Regions from separate parts of the Homo sapiens genome. Here all the other regions are linked to region 2. The links are contacts of gene promoters, found by promoter capture Hi-C in blood cells and fetal thymus (Javierre and others, 2016). All regions are on one chromosome and are shown on one strand. The core of a region is centred on a gene start or on the middle of the fragment in contact, and the rest is flanking DNA. Distances in the headings are between cores, read along the strand shown.

Evidence for each region. Contacts are between HindIII fragments. The CHiCAGO score rates a contact against its expected background, and 5 or more counts as called.
Region 1: a contact is called between a fragment that was not itself captured here and the fragment with the promoter of SYT17 in region 2, in 4 of 17 cell types (M1 macrophages, M0 macrophages, M2 macrophages and 1 more). The highest score is 6.0, in M1 macrophages.
Region 3: a fragment that was not itself captured here is called in contact with the fragment with the promoter of SYT17 in region 2 in 7 of 17 cell types (M1 macrophages, M0 macrophages, naive B cells and 4 more); the score reaches 21.0 in M1 macrophages.
Region 4: a contact is called between a fragment that was not itself captured here and the fragment with the promoter of SYT17 in region 2, in 5 of 17 cell types (M1 macrophages, M2 macrophages, monocytes and 2 more). The highest score is 10.3, in M1 macrophages.
Region 5: a fragment that was not itself captured here is called in contact with the fragment with the promoter of SYT17 in region 2 in 3 of 17 cell types (M1 macrophages, M0 macrophages and naive B cells); the score reaches 6.6 in M1 macrophages.

What each region holds. Positions count from the first base shown.
Region 1 is chr16:19,307,471-19,310,170 of GRCh38, reverse strand. CLEC19A (C-type lectin domain containing 19A) reads right to left here. Exons shown (of 5, transcript NM_001256720.2): 4 at 2,494-2,626; 5 at 1-1,167. The coding sequence ends at 1,088. Among named protein-coding and RNA genes, the nearest start is that of CLEC19A, 23 kb to the right of the region's middle. The HindIII fragment of the contact is 9,354 bases long and covers 1-2,700 here.
Region 2 is chr16:19,166,821-19,169,520 of GRCh38, reverse strand. It overlaps SYT17 (synaptotagmin 17), which reads right to left and starts at 1,281. Exons shown (of 8, transcript NM_016524.4): 1 at 860-1,281. The coding sequence starts at 874. RefSeq lists an enhancer at 697-1,444 and a silencer at 1,636-1,885. The HindIII fragment of the contact is 5,386 bases long and covers 35-2,700 here.
Region 3 is chr16:19,349,206-19,351,905 of GRCh38, reverse strand. No RefSeq gene overlaps it. Among named protein-coding and RNA genes, the nearest start is that of LINC02858, 16 kb to the right of the region's middle. The HindIII fragment of the contact is 187 bases long and covers 1,333-1,519 here.
Region 4 is chr16:19,329,557-19,332,256 of GRCh38, reverse strand. No RefSeq gene overlaps it. Among named protein-coding and RNA genes, the nearest start is that of LINC02858, 3.3 kb to the left of the region's middle. The HindIII fragment of the contact is 9,542 bases long and covers 1-2,700 here.
Region 5 is chr16:19,401,138-19,403,837 of GRCh38, reverse strand. No RefSeq gene overlaps it. Among named protein-coding and RNA genes, the nearest start is that of TMC5, 15 kb to the left of the region's middle. The HindIII fragment of the contact is 3,241 bases long and covers 1-2,700 here.

The sequences.
Region 1 (2,700 bases), core at 24-2,523, 140 kb before region 2:
ATACCTGTTTCCGATTCTCTTAGGTCGAGATCTAGGAGTGGAATTGCTGGCTTAGATGTAATTCTATGTTTAACTTTTTGAGGAACTGCCAAACTTTTCCACAGTGGCTTCACTATTTTACATTCCCACCAGCAATTTATGAGTTTGGTAATCTTTTTGTTTTCCTTTGAAGAACCAGCCTCATCTTTGAGCCCATGTGTTGACGGGAATATTTAAGATGTATTCTTGGCTAGGCGCAGTGGCTCATGCCTGTAATCCCAGTACTTTGGGAGGCTGAGGTGGGTGGATCCCTTGAGCCCAGGAGTTCGAAACCAGCTTGGATGACATGATGAAACCTCGTCTCTATTTAAAAAAAAAAATACAAAAGTTAGCTAGATGTGGTGGCATGCGCCTGTAGCGTCCTGTAGTCCCACCTACTCTGGGGACTGGAGGTGGAAGGATCACCTGAGCCCAGGAGGTTGAGGCTGCAGTGAGCTGTGATTGCATCATTGCACTTCAGCCTGGGCAACAGAGTGAGACTCTGTCTCAAAAAAAAAAATTACTCTCGTAGCAAATTTCAGGAATACAATACATTATTATTAACTATAGTCATCACGCTGTACATTAAGCCTCCCAAACTTATTAATCTTATTTCCAAAAGTTTGTATGCTTTGACCAACACCCCCCCGCATTTTCCCCCACTCCCAGCGCCTCTGATAATGTGACTTCCACCCCATTTTGTCCAAAGATGTACAGCTAAGCAGGAGCTAGCCACTTAGCATATGCCAAAGTGATTGCTTCAGGGATGGGCACGTGACCCGAGCCAGGCCAGTGAGATTCAACTCTGAATCAGAACAACCCCTGGATTTTTGTTACTTGGGTCAATTTAAAAAAAAAAACACTTTAAAAAATTAAGCCAATTTGAGCTGGCTTTCCTGACACTTGGCCAAGTGACCACCCTGTATAATTAAGATCTGCTTGTTTAAAATCTCTGTCCAAGAGATTTACTTCCTATGTATGTTTTACATGTATTCAATGTCAATTCTACACTGGTTACAGCTACAAGATGATACTAGAGTTGAGCTCACACCAGTAGGACAAGACAGGATCAATGAATGGTCAGAGATGGGATTTTGCAGACAAAGGGGAACTTCCGGCTGCAGGTGTTATCATTCCATGACCTCAGAGCTGTGATGGAAAGAAGCAGAGAATCTGGGTGAAAATCCATCCGCCAAGATAAAAGTAACCCCACCACTCCTCTGAAGTAAAAGCCATCTCCAATAGGCCTTGTGTCTATGCTGGCAGCCCTTTCTTGCTGATACTTGACAAGCCTGCTGTCCAGCCTTACTCTTGCATAAAGCTGATTCTGGCTTGTCACCTTGGATGGGAGGATGAACTTCAGCCAGAGGCTTGGCCCAACTCTGGCTACCCAGGGCTCCAGGAGGGCTCCCAGGAAAATAAGCTGTTCTCTACCTCCCTCCCCTAATTAGGAAAAGAAAAAAGAGCAAAGAGGGAATAACAATTAAGTGTCTGGGTCTGGAGTTCTGTAGATCTAGATTTGAAACCCAGCTCCACTACTTAGCTTGCTGTGTGACCTTGAACAAGTTGCTGAACTTCTCTGAGCCTCGTTTTCCTCATCAGCAAAGTGGGAATATTGTTTCTATTTCTTAACATTGGTGTGAAAGTGATGATTCATGATGATGCTGGTGATTGCTAATACTGAATACTGAGCATGGCAGCTATTCTATGAGCACTATCTTCTTTTTTTATTCACATTAACCTGTGAGTTAAGTATCATTAGCCACATTTTGAAGACAAAGAATCTGAGGCACCAAGAGGTTAAGGCATTCTCTTTGGGCTACACATTAAGGATGGAGCGGGGGTTCACACAAGGGCAGTCAACTCCCGAGTCCATGCTCTTGCCACGGTGCTATATCAACTGTGCCTCCTTTAATCCTCACAGCAGTCTTGTAGGTAGGACAAATTATTAAGCCCATTTTATAGAAGAAGAAACAGAATCTCAGAGAGGATAAGTAATTCTCTGCAATGACACAGAACTAGAAAGAAACAGGGCCAGAATTTGAATTCAAGTCTATACTCTTCTCACTACCCACACCCTCATGCCACCACACATGTGGCTTGCTTCAGGAGCATGAGTCTGTGGAAGGGGCTTGCACTTTGATGTGTTGTTGAGTTGACATGGAAGCATCACCCCTTGACTACTCTCTATACAAGTCTTTATTCCCCCCATGCTTCTATTTATAACATCTTTTCATTCAAGTTGGAGTTTATGTGTCAACCAAACCCCATTTAATGTTGTTTAAAGCATATCCATTGTGGCGAATGGCCATGCCCCCGACACCCTAGTGACCTCCACCGCTCTCCAAGGTGCTGAACAATTTGCCAGTCTCAGGCCATCAGGTGCTCCTCTTCCCCCAAGGCCCTTCTCCGCTCTCCCCACCTGTGACACCTCCTGGGCTCCCCTGCAAGAGCCTTGGTCTCAGGGGTACCCACCACTGGTAGGCCTGTACCATATCTGCACGCAGTCCTCTTCTTCTGGGTCCGCGTGGACGCCATCATCTGGCTGGCTGCCATCCCAGTAGCTGTAGTCATAGGATGAGCCATCAGTCCATTCAAACTGCCCTTCCTGGGAGGGTTCCACCCAAAGAGACAAAGAAGCAAGCCAAGAAGAAGATCAGGCATTTGAGCCAGGCAGCTCCA
Region 2 (2,700 bases), core at 32-2,531:
CAAGATGCACCCTGGACGTGGGAGTCTGTAAGCTTCTCTGCCCAGCTCAGAGGCGCCAGCGCCAGAAGCAAGCAGCTCAACGGGTCTCACTGCGGGTCTGCCTGCTTGACCTTGGCGCTGACCTGCGGTCACTTCCCTTCTTGCAGAGGAGAAAGGTCTTTTCACCAAGAAGCCCGGCCCACCCCTCCGCCCCCTCCCCCCAAAAAAGGCTGCTTAGAAATTATTTCAGAATTATTTCAGCCCAAGGATTCTTGGGGGACGTTTCTTCAAGGTGAAGAGGGTCCACATCTCCCAGACCCCAATGCAGCGGAGTAAAGTAACAGGCTCCCTTCTCTTCACCAGCGCGCCTCTGGCCTCTGGGTGTCCCCCACCCCTCAGCACCCAGTGCCCAGGAGAGACGACGTCCTTGTCCCTCCTGGTCGGAACAGCTGCCTCAGGCTCGCTCCGCCGGCCAATTAGCCGGAGCCGTCACCACGGCAACGGCAGCTGGCGGGCCGGGTGGCTGGCGCGCCCCGGGCCGCCCTCCCCACGGCCCCTCCCCTGGGGTGGGGTGCCAAGGAGAGGGAGGGGGCAGGGGAGAAGAAAAGTCCGCCCCACCCCCCATTCCCTCCCCAAGAGGCAAGGGCGCGCGTTGCAGAGTACACATAGGACCCTCCATCCCGGGGTTTGGGGGTCCCCAGTCTCTCCTCCCGGGGCGCACCCCTGTTGCTGCACAGGTTGCCCGCGCACGGGCACCCTTTTTCTCGAAGCAAGTTTGTGGGAGCCTAGCCGTGGGCCCTCCCTTCCGCGCGCTCCCAGCCGGAGGGGGCGCGGCACCCCCTACCCGCACCCCGGACCTTGCCCCCAGCCTCAGCCCTACCTGGATGTACGCCATTTTCGCCCGCGCGCACTCACTCCGGCCCGGGCATGGCGCCGCCACGGCCACTTTGCCCTCGCCAACAGCGGAGGGGGAAGAAAGCAAAGGGGGAAAGGAAGAAAAAGGCAGCCGGTGGCCCCAGACGTGACTGGCGTGGCTGATGAGCGGCGCCCGCCCCTCCGCCGGCCGCCCCGTCCTTGCCTTTCCCTGCGTTCCGGCTCTCGGAATCGGGGCCGCCTCCCCGGTTCGGAGATATCGGGCGCCCAGGGCCCCCGCCTCGGCCTCCCTCGCTGTCCCGTGCTCCCCACCGAGGCGCTCCCCAGGCTGGAATAAGGCCGGGGCGCCTGGGCAAGCAGCCCGGGGCAGCTGCGGGGACTGCAGCGACCCCAGCGCAGGCGGGGCCGGAGACGCCGGGGCCGGAGCGCGCAGGAGGCGGGGGAGGGGATGGGAATGGGGAAGGGGGTGGGAGGGGGCGGTACACAGGTCAGCCCATCCTGCTGGCACGGGGGCTGGCACCTACCGAAAGCAGCGCCCCCGGGGCAGCCGTGGAGCCGAGGGGACACAGTGCAGCCTGCCATGAAGTCTGCAGCAGGGAGGGTCCTTCCCATCCAGCCCTCTCCCCAAACTGGGTTGGAAAAACTTTATTCCCGCCCCACCCGACGCGCCTAGCACGGTTGCGGTGAGGCTTGCAGAGGCTGCGTGGATGGGAGCCTCAAGTTAAGGTGGGCGTAGGGCGTCCCAAACGGAGGTGCTGCGTCCAGGGCTGCAGGGGGCGCGCGGAGAGAGCGGAGCGCCCCTTTACCCTAAACCTGCCGGAGTTGCGCCCTGGACGCAACAGGTCTAGCGCGGGGCGGCCCGGCAGCGCCACCCAGCGTCGTGCCCGGCCTCGTGCGCTCCTCTGCCCACGGGCAGGCGGCCGCCAGCGAGCGTGCGCCCCGGGGCGTGTCCACCGCCGCCCTCCTGCCTGTCCTCGTGGCTGGGGCGCCCTGGACCCAGAGGCCTCCATCAAACCTCCCAGCCCAAGGCCTCTGGCTCTCCACTCAGAGATTCGAGGTGGAACATTGCCCTCCGCTGGATTTCTTATTTTATTTTATTTTATTTTATTTTATTTTATTTTATTTTATTTTATTTTATTTTATTTTATTTTTGACACAGGGTGTCACTCTGTCACCCAGGCTGGAGTGCACTGGGGTAATCTTGGCTCACTGAAACCTCCGCCTCCCAGGTTCAAGGGATTCTCGTGTCTCAGCCTCCCGAGTAGCTGGGACTACAGGCACATGCCACCACGCCCACTAATTTTTGTATTTTTGGTAGAGAAAGGGTTTCACCATGTGGGCCAGGCTGGTCTCGAACTCCTGGCCTCAAGTGATCTGCCTGCCTCGGCCTCCCAAAGTGCTGGGATTAGGGGCGTGAGCCACTGCGCCGGGCCGGTTTTCTTTTTAATATGCCCAGTCATCTCCTGTTGCCGGACACCAGCTTATCAGCATTTTAATTTTAACCTCCCAGTGCCTCTTTTTCCTCAGTAAAAACAGGAGAAAATCTCCACCCTGCCTATCCTCCAGGGCTGATTTGTGGGAATAAATGAGAAAATGAATATGGGAGTAACAAAAGATGGATATTCAGATGCATATATTTTTTGTCTAAAAATCTAGCAGACCTATACATTTTTTAGTATGATATATTTAGTTTGTAGCATATAGCACGTAACGCATATTGAGTGCTTATGATTCTGCAGGCATACACGCCTCAACACTTCACAAGCGTTATTTCATTTCAACCTGCAGTACCTTGATCACTCCTATTAGGTAGCACCTGTCCAGCCAGAGTAGGCACTCAGTAATTGT
Region 3 (2,700 bases), core at 177-2,676, 180 kb before region 2:
ATGTATCAGTACTTCATTCCTTTTTAATAAGAAGGAATCTTATTATTATTATTATTATTTCTGAGACGGAGCCTTGCTCTGTCGCCCAGGCTGGAGTGCAGTGGTGCGATCTCGGCTCACAGCAACCCCTGCCTCCTGGGTTCAAGCCATTCTCCTGCCTCAGCCTCCCAAGTAGCTGGGACTACAGGCGTGTGCCACCACACCCAGCTAATTTTTGTATTTTTAGTAGAGATGGGGCTTCACCACGTTGGTCAGGCTGGTCTTGAACTGCTGACTTCAAGTGATCTGCTCGCCTTGACCTCCCAAAGTGCTGGCATTACAGGCGTGAGCCACCGCGCCCGGCCAAGAAGGAATATTATTGCATAATGATATTAACGCATATTGCAAGGCATAGGTATCTCTCATTTTGATTATCCATTCATCAGTTTATGGATATTTGGGTTGTTTTCACCTTCTGGCTATGAACATTTGTGGATAAGTTTTTGTTTAAATCCATGTTTTCAATTTTTTTGGCATATATGGTAATTCTGTGCTTAACTTATTGAGGAACTGCCACACGGTGACAGTCCCACAGTGCCTGCATAATTTTGCATTCCTACCAGCAGCATATGGGGGCTCCAATTTCCACACCCTTGTCAATACTTGTTCTTGTCCTTTAAAAAAATTATAGCCATCCTAGTGGGTGAGTAAAAGACTTTCTGTTGGCTGGGCTCAGTGGCTCATGCCTATAATCCCAACAGTTTGGGTGGCTGAGGCAGGCAGATTGCTTGAGTTCAGGAGTTCAAGACCAGCCTGGGCAACATGGTGAAAACCTGTCTCTACTAAAAATACAAAAAATTAGCCAGGTGTGGTGGTGCGTGCCTGTAGTCCCAGCTACTTGGGAGGCTGAGGTGGGAGGATTGCTTGAGCCCAGGAAGTTGAGGCTGCAGTGAGCTGTGATAGCACCATTGCACTCCAGCCTGAGCAACTGGAGTGAGACCCTGTCTCACAAAAACAAAAAACCTCAACTTTCTGTCTAAACTCTGTCTCCCCTGCCTTTCTCCCAATTTCTCAAAGAACTAATATAATTTTGCACAATAATTTTTTAAGCTATCTATGGTTTAGTCTATCAATTGTGATTCTTTTGGTTGCAAGTAACAGGAAACCAACTCAAACCAGGTCAAACAATAAAAGCCAGCTTCAGAGACACTTCTGGTGTGGTTTGATCAAGATTCCAGCTCTGTTTCACTGCAGTTCTTCTGGCACTGCCTTCTCCGTAAGTTGGATTCATCCACAAACTGGCTTTCTCCAGGGCTTTAAGGTAGCTATCAACAACAAACAAGGTTACAAGCTTCTTTATTCATATCTGAGGAGGGCGAGTCACTGCCCTTAATTGATGAATACAAATCCTAACTCCGTTGATTGGACCAGTCTTAAACCAATTCTCCTAATCGTGGATCACTGAGCTGATTCGCTTAGGCTAGGCCTGGGTTACTTGAACCAGTCAAGGGCAAGTCTGATGGAAATACCCTGATAAGCTTGGACCCATCAAGTCCCACCCTTGGATTTGAGATTTAGGTCAATTCCATCCACCACAGCTTTTAGACAATGAGGGAAAAGGAAAAAGGAAATCGATGTCCGCTCTATTGCTATTTGCTTTGTTAGAGGATTTGGTGAAAAGAAGTCCATTTGGTAGAATCTTTTTTCTTTTCTTTTCTTTCTTTCTTTTTTTTTTTCGAGATGGAGTCTCGCTCTGTTGCCTAGGCTGGAGTGCAGTGGCACGAATTCGGCTCACTGCAACCTCCACCTCCCAGGTTCAAGCAATTCTCCTGCCTCAGCCTCCTGAGTAGCTGGGACTACATATGCGTGCCACCACACCTGGCTAATTTTTTGTATTTTAAGTTGAGACGGAGTTTCACCGTGTTAGCCAGGATGGTCTCCATCTCCTGACCTTGTGATCCATCCGCCTCGGCCTCCCAAAGTGCTGGGATTACAGGCGTGAGCCACCACGCCTGGCCCATTTGGTAGAATCTTAATGTCCATCTGCTAGAGTTATGGTCAAATTGAAGTGGACTGGCGGCCTTTCTGTTATAATGATTCTAAATAGCATTATTAATACTTAGTGTCTTAAACCTTTATATATCTTAAAACTTATTTGTGGGTATTATCAGTATTCCCACTTTACCGATGAGGTTTGTAAGGTTGACAAATCTGAAAGATTCTATCACCTTGAACCAAGACGGGATATATGTGTGTTCTTTCTAGGCATATTCTGACAGCTCAGCAGAGTCGGCTAAGATGTGTGGGCACCTGGACAGGCTAATGTTGAGGTATCCTATTGAGTCTGGCGGTCAGGGTTAAAAACCTGGCCCCATCACCTACCAGGTGGTGACCTTGAGCAAGTTACTAGCACTTTGTGCCTCAGTACTTTGGCAATAACAAATAGTACCTACCTTGTAGAATTGTTAATGAAGATTACATCATTCATATACATGGTAAGAGCCCTGTTAATCTTTGTAAAAAAAAAGTCTTTGTAAAAAATAATGACACTTTTCTCTATCTGGTTACATTTCCAGGGATGTTTTAGCACCATCCTTGAGGTTTGGCACCTGCTGTTCCATCCCTTAATCCAGTTCAGGCTGCAACCTGGACCTTCTCCAACCCCCAGCCACTTTGCTAATCAATATCTTATCGCATCGCATCTCAGTCTGGGCTCTCCCA
Region 4 (2,700 bases), core at 192-2,691, 160 kb before region 2:
CTTTCCCCTTCCTCCTTCCTTCATTCCTTCCTTCCTTCCTTTCTGTTTTTAAAGTGAAAGCAAGTTTATTAAGAAAGTAAAGGAATAAGAGAATGGCTGCTCCATAGGCAGAGCAGCCCTGAGGGCTGGTTACCCATGTTTATGATTATTTCTTGATTATATGCTAAATAAGGGGTGGATTATTAATCAGTTTTCTGGGAAAGGGGTGGGCAATTCCCAGAACTGAGGGTTCCTCCCCTTTTTAGACCATGTAGGGTAACTTCCTGATGTTGCCGTGACATCTGTCAACTGTCGTGACACTGGTGGGGGTGTAGCAGTGAGGATGACCAGAGGTCACTCTCGTCACTATCTTGGTTTTTGCCAGCTTCTTTACTGCAACCTGTTTTATCAGGAAGGTCTTTATGACCTGTATCTTGAAGCACATTTCTTTAGATCTGTCCCATACCCTATGGAGAACTACGCACAAGCTATTGATTCCTTCACAACTTGCCGTAAGAGTTCCAAGGCATGTGTGCCCAGAACACAGAGCTCTCAATTCTTACATCAAGTCCTGTGTTTGTCTCTTTAGTGATAGGCTCTTGGAAGTAAAATTATTGGGTCAGAAACCATTGAACATGTCCAGACTCCCAACAAAAACTCCCAAATTGCTTCCAAAGTTTCTCAAATCAGCCTTCCCAATAACAGTATATGAAGGTGTCTATTTCACTACAACACCTCCAACACCAAATGTTTTCTATCTTTTACATTTCTGAAGGAAGAATCATGTCATCCTGCTGATGTTTTGGTTCCCTGTATCTTATTATGGAGCTGGCCATGGTTACTGGCCATTTGGATTTTCTCTGAGCCACTTCTGAGCAGAGAGGGACACACAGCCCATATAATGACATTGGGGCCTCTGTATCACATTTTCAAATCTCCCCATGCTCCTAATGCCTATTGCAGGAAATGGAACAAGGTTGGTGCTCATTTGTATCTGCTGAAGGGCACTGAGTCTCTTTGCAGTCAGCAGTGGTCTTGCCAAGCTGTTCCTTGTGGTTGGAAGCACTCCAGCTTTAGAAATCACACAAAGCAAATTGCAAACAGTGAGTGGAATAAATATTTGAGCATTTCAGAGCCACGGTGGCTTTGATTGTTAAGCCAAGTGTCTTGCTGAGGGGCAAGAATCTGAGACTGACAGATCACAGGCTATGGAGGCCTTTGGTGGGTTGGACCCGCTGTGCTATTTGGCAAACCTGCCCCCAAAGACTCATTTGGAAGCTACAGAGCGAATAGTTCAAGGCTACTGCGGAAAGTGCTGCCTCATGGGGCATGTATTGGAAGTGACTTGCCGTGTGACTCATAGGCTTTTTGGCCTCAAGGAACTCAGAAGGGCGGCATCAGCTTACCCTGACCACCAGTCAGACTGCATCAAATCATGCCCTCCATGACAGCTAAAGTGCCCACCAGTCCCCCAGCCTGGCCCTGGAGACTGGTCCTGACCTGGTCTCTACCCTCCCTCCCAGCGCCATCTCCTATTGTTTCCGTTCCTGTGTATTGAGAACAATTGTTCCCACTTCTTTGGGTATGAGCATAAGTTTGAAATCAGAGAGCTCTGCGTTCAAGTTGTGGCTTCATTATTACATTCTGAGTGCCGAGTATGGTGCTTGTTATGTAGGAATGAGTCAATAAATAGTTTTATTTTTATTTTCTTATTAAAAACATTTTTTTAAAGAGATGAGGTCTCTCTATGTTGCCTAGGCTCGACTCAAACTTCTGGGCTCAAGTGATGCTCCTGCTTCAGCCTCCTGAGTAGCTGGGACTACAGGTGAGTGTCACTGCACCTGGATTACAAAAACAAGTCTTAAAACACATGACTCCTAGTCACTCAAAATGTGTTCCCTAGACCAGCAGCATAGGGATCACCTGGGAACTTCTTAGAAATGCAGGCTCTCAGGCCCTGGTCCAGACCTGCTGAACAGGAATCTGCATTTTCACAAGATCCCCAGGTGACTCTTATGCACATAAGAGTTTGAGGAACACTGACCTAATTCATAGAATTGGTCTGAAAACCAGTGACATCAGATGTGTAAGTGCCTGGCAAAGAGTTTGGTATATCATAGATGCTCAAATGACGAGTCATCTCTTTCTCTGTCTCTTCCACACTCCTGTCCTAGAATGCAAAATCTCTGAAGCCAGGGGCCCTGTCTCATTTCTCTTGAGACCATCAGCCAGATTTCACAGCTGACTCATAGTAGGTGCTTAGAAAATTTTTAAGTGCTGACAATTTGGCATAGTTTAGTCCAGTAATTTTTCAGGCTGCAGGTTGCAAACCATTAGTGGGTTGGGAAATGAATTTAGTGGACTTAGTGGATTTAAAAATAATTAGAGGAGGATTCTGGGAAGATGGCAGAGCAGGAAACATCAGGAATCCGTCTCCCTACCTAAATAACAATTGCACTGGCAGAATCTATTTGATGTAACTATTTTTGGCTGAGCACAATGGCTCACACCTGCAATGCCAGCACTTTTAGAGGCCGAGGTGGGTGAATCACTTGAGCTCAGGAGTTTGAGACCGGCCCACACTCTCTCTCTCTCTCCTGTCTCTCTGTCTCTCTCTCTCTCTCTCTCTCTCTCCTGTCTCTCTGTCTCTCCCTCTCTCTCAATCTCTCTCTCTCTCTCTCTATATATATATATTATATATATATATATATTTGTATTTGA
Region 5 (2,700 bases), core at 163-2,662, 230 kb before region 2:
AAGAGGAAAGAAGACGCTCTTCCCTCTCTCCTTCATGTACCCCAGGTATCTGCTAGGAAGAGAAGGGAACCAGGGGTGACTTCTCCCCTCTTTCTAGATGGATAGCCATTCATCTTCAGTCTGTACCCCTTTCAAATGCATCCTGAAGCCCCCGGACTCCTTTGAAAAACGCCTTCTTTTTCCTTTCTCCTCCTCTGTTCTCTCATCACTGATAGGTAATTGTGTCTCCATAGTATGGGACACTCCCCTCAGATGCATCCTCCAAACTGGAAAGAGTTAATTTCCCAAACCTTAAACTGGTGGGCTTAGGATTGGCCTCAAGGGAAGGGAACCCAGAAGCCCAACATGCTGGCAAAAGGTAAAGTTTTTTTGCCAGTCAGGCTTTTGGTCTCCCTCTCCCTGTGCAAACTGATAAAAGGCTTTGAAATTTTTGAGCTGTCCTTCCCCTTCCCCTTGTTTCGTTTTGATACATGTTTTCTAATAACCTAGTTTGTCTGTTCTTGCCTTCAGACCATCAAACTCCAAACAGTCATATAACTGGAGCCTGGGATGATGGTCCCTTCTGCTGGGAACCCTTAGATAGACCTCTGAGGGAGCTCTGACTGTCATTTCCCCAAAACAGCATCCCCTGTCAGCAGGAAGCAGTTAAGATCAGTCTTTGTCCTTTTCCTTAATCTAATGGCAGTTAGATGTACTTTTTTAGAGGTGGGAATGAGACAGCTAGGTGGGAGGGGGATCCCCAGAGAACCTCCAACCTCTCCAACTGGCCTGCTCACTGGAAAGAGCCACACAAGTTTGTGACTTTGCAGCTGGGAGGAGCCTGGCCCCTCCTCTTTCTGTGTGGAATCTGGGATTTGAATGGCCAGGTGGGAAGTGCTCTAGCAGGGACTCTGACCTAGCAAGAGTCCCTGTTTCCCCCTTTTCTTCCCTTTCCACCCAATAAAACCCTGTCTTACTCACCATTCGAATTGTCTGTGAGCCTGAATTTTTGTGGCTGTGAGACAAAAAACCCCATCTTTAGCTGAACTAAAGAAAAATACTGCAACAATAGGACCTATCATTTTGGGCTTTAATGGGGATTTAATGAGTAGCTTATATAAAGAGTTATACCTATAGTGCCTGCCACACATAAAAGTGTGTAAGTGCTTGTTAAATAAAAAGAAATTTAGTTCCGTGTAATAACTGTGCTGACCATTTTACATGCTATCACAAAGTCCTCCCATCCCTTTAAACATATCCTTTTCAATGTGATCTTGCAGGATCAGAATTCATCACCCCACTCAAAAGTAGGGTGAATCTCAGAGTCTGGGGCAATAGCTCACTCCTGTAATCCCAGCACTTTGGGAGGCTGAGGCAGGGGAAGGTTGCTCGAGCCCAGTAGTTCAAGTCCAGCCCGGGCAACATTAGGTAGACCCCATCTCTCAAAAAAAAATTCCTCAAAAAATTAGCCATGCGTGGTGGCATGCATCTGTGGTCTCAGCTACTTGGAAGGCTGACGTGGGAAGATTGTTTGGGCCTGGGAGGCAGAGGCTGCAGTGAGCTATGATTGTGCCATTGTATTCCAGCCTGGGTAACAGAACAAGACCCTATCGTAAAAAAAAAAATATTGGGTACATCTCAAATTTAACAAAACTAAAATCGACCCCTGAGGGTTACTCTTCTAACCTGCTCTTCCACAATTTCCCTGTGGGAAAGAGAGTTTCTGGGTTGCCAGTTGAGTTGGTCTCCTCTGTGTGAGACACCCATGGGAAGCCATGGGCAGCCTCTAAGGAGAAAAGTCTCCTTATTGCCTTCATGTCTTTATGCCCTGGGAGCATAACCACTCAGCGGCATTCCACAGGTTGGTCAGGGAGATTACACTCCCTTGAAGCAATGGAGTATAATCAAACATCTTGGCTCCTCCTGAAACCCACTTCCACCTGTTTCAGTCCTGGTAAGTTAAAGATCTTAAGTAGTTTAGACACACATCTTTGCTCAAGGAAATTCACAGAAACCACCACTGCTACACATCTTATCGAATGACTCACGAGTTCTCCTTCACTGATTAATCCTGTTCCTCATCCCTTCCTCCCCCTCCCATCTGCCCTAAGAACAAAGAGCTTGTAAGCCAATAAATTGCGTGAAGCCCAAGAGCTCTGGGCCGTGAGCAAGCCTCTGATGCTCTGGTCCCCTGAACCCGCCTTTTAAATGCTTATTCTGTCTCTTTCTAACTCCTTTGTGTCTGTCAGACTTGGGGTACCCACTGGGTGGTGTGGGGCTGGTTTCCCCAACATCTGGCACCCAACGTGGGGCTCCCCATAATCTCTACAAATAATCCAGTGAAGAAACGCCAGAGCGTGGAAAGTGGAGGACGACTGACAAAGGTTGCCCGAGTACGTTTTCACTTCAGGCTCTACGGGTAAGTAGGGTGCTCGGAGAATTCCAGGGTAACCTCAGGAAAATATGGGTCAGGCTGAAAGTAAGTTTGCAAATTACTTAAGCCTGGTGCAGCAGTTATTGTGCCACAGCGGGGTAATTGTGAGTACCCAAAATCTCACATCTTTGTTCCATCTCATAGAAAAGTATTCTCCTTTGTTCCCAGGATATGGAACCATGAATGTAAAAGATTGGGACAAGGTCGGATCAGACTTACAAGGAGCAAAACAAGAGGGTTACGATATTTCCTTCTCCACTTGGTCTGTGTGGCCAGCAATTAAAACA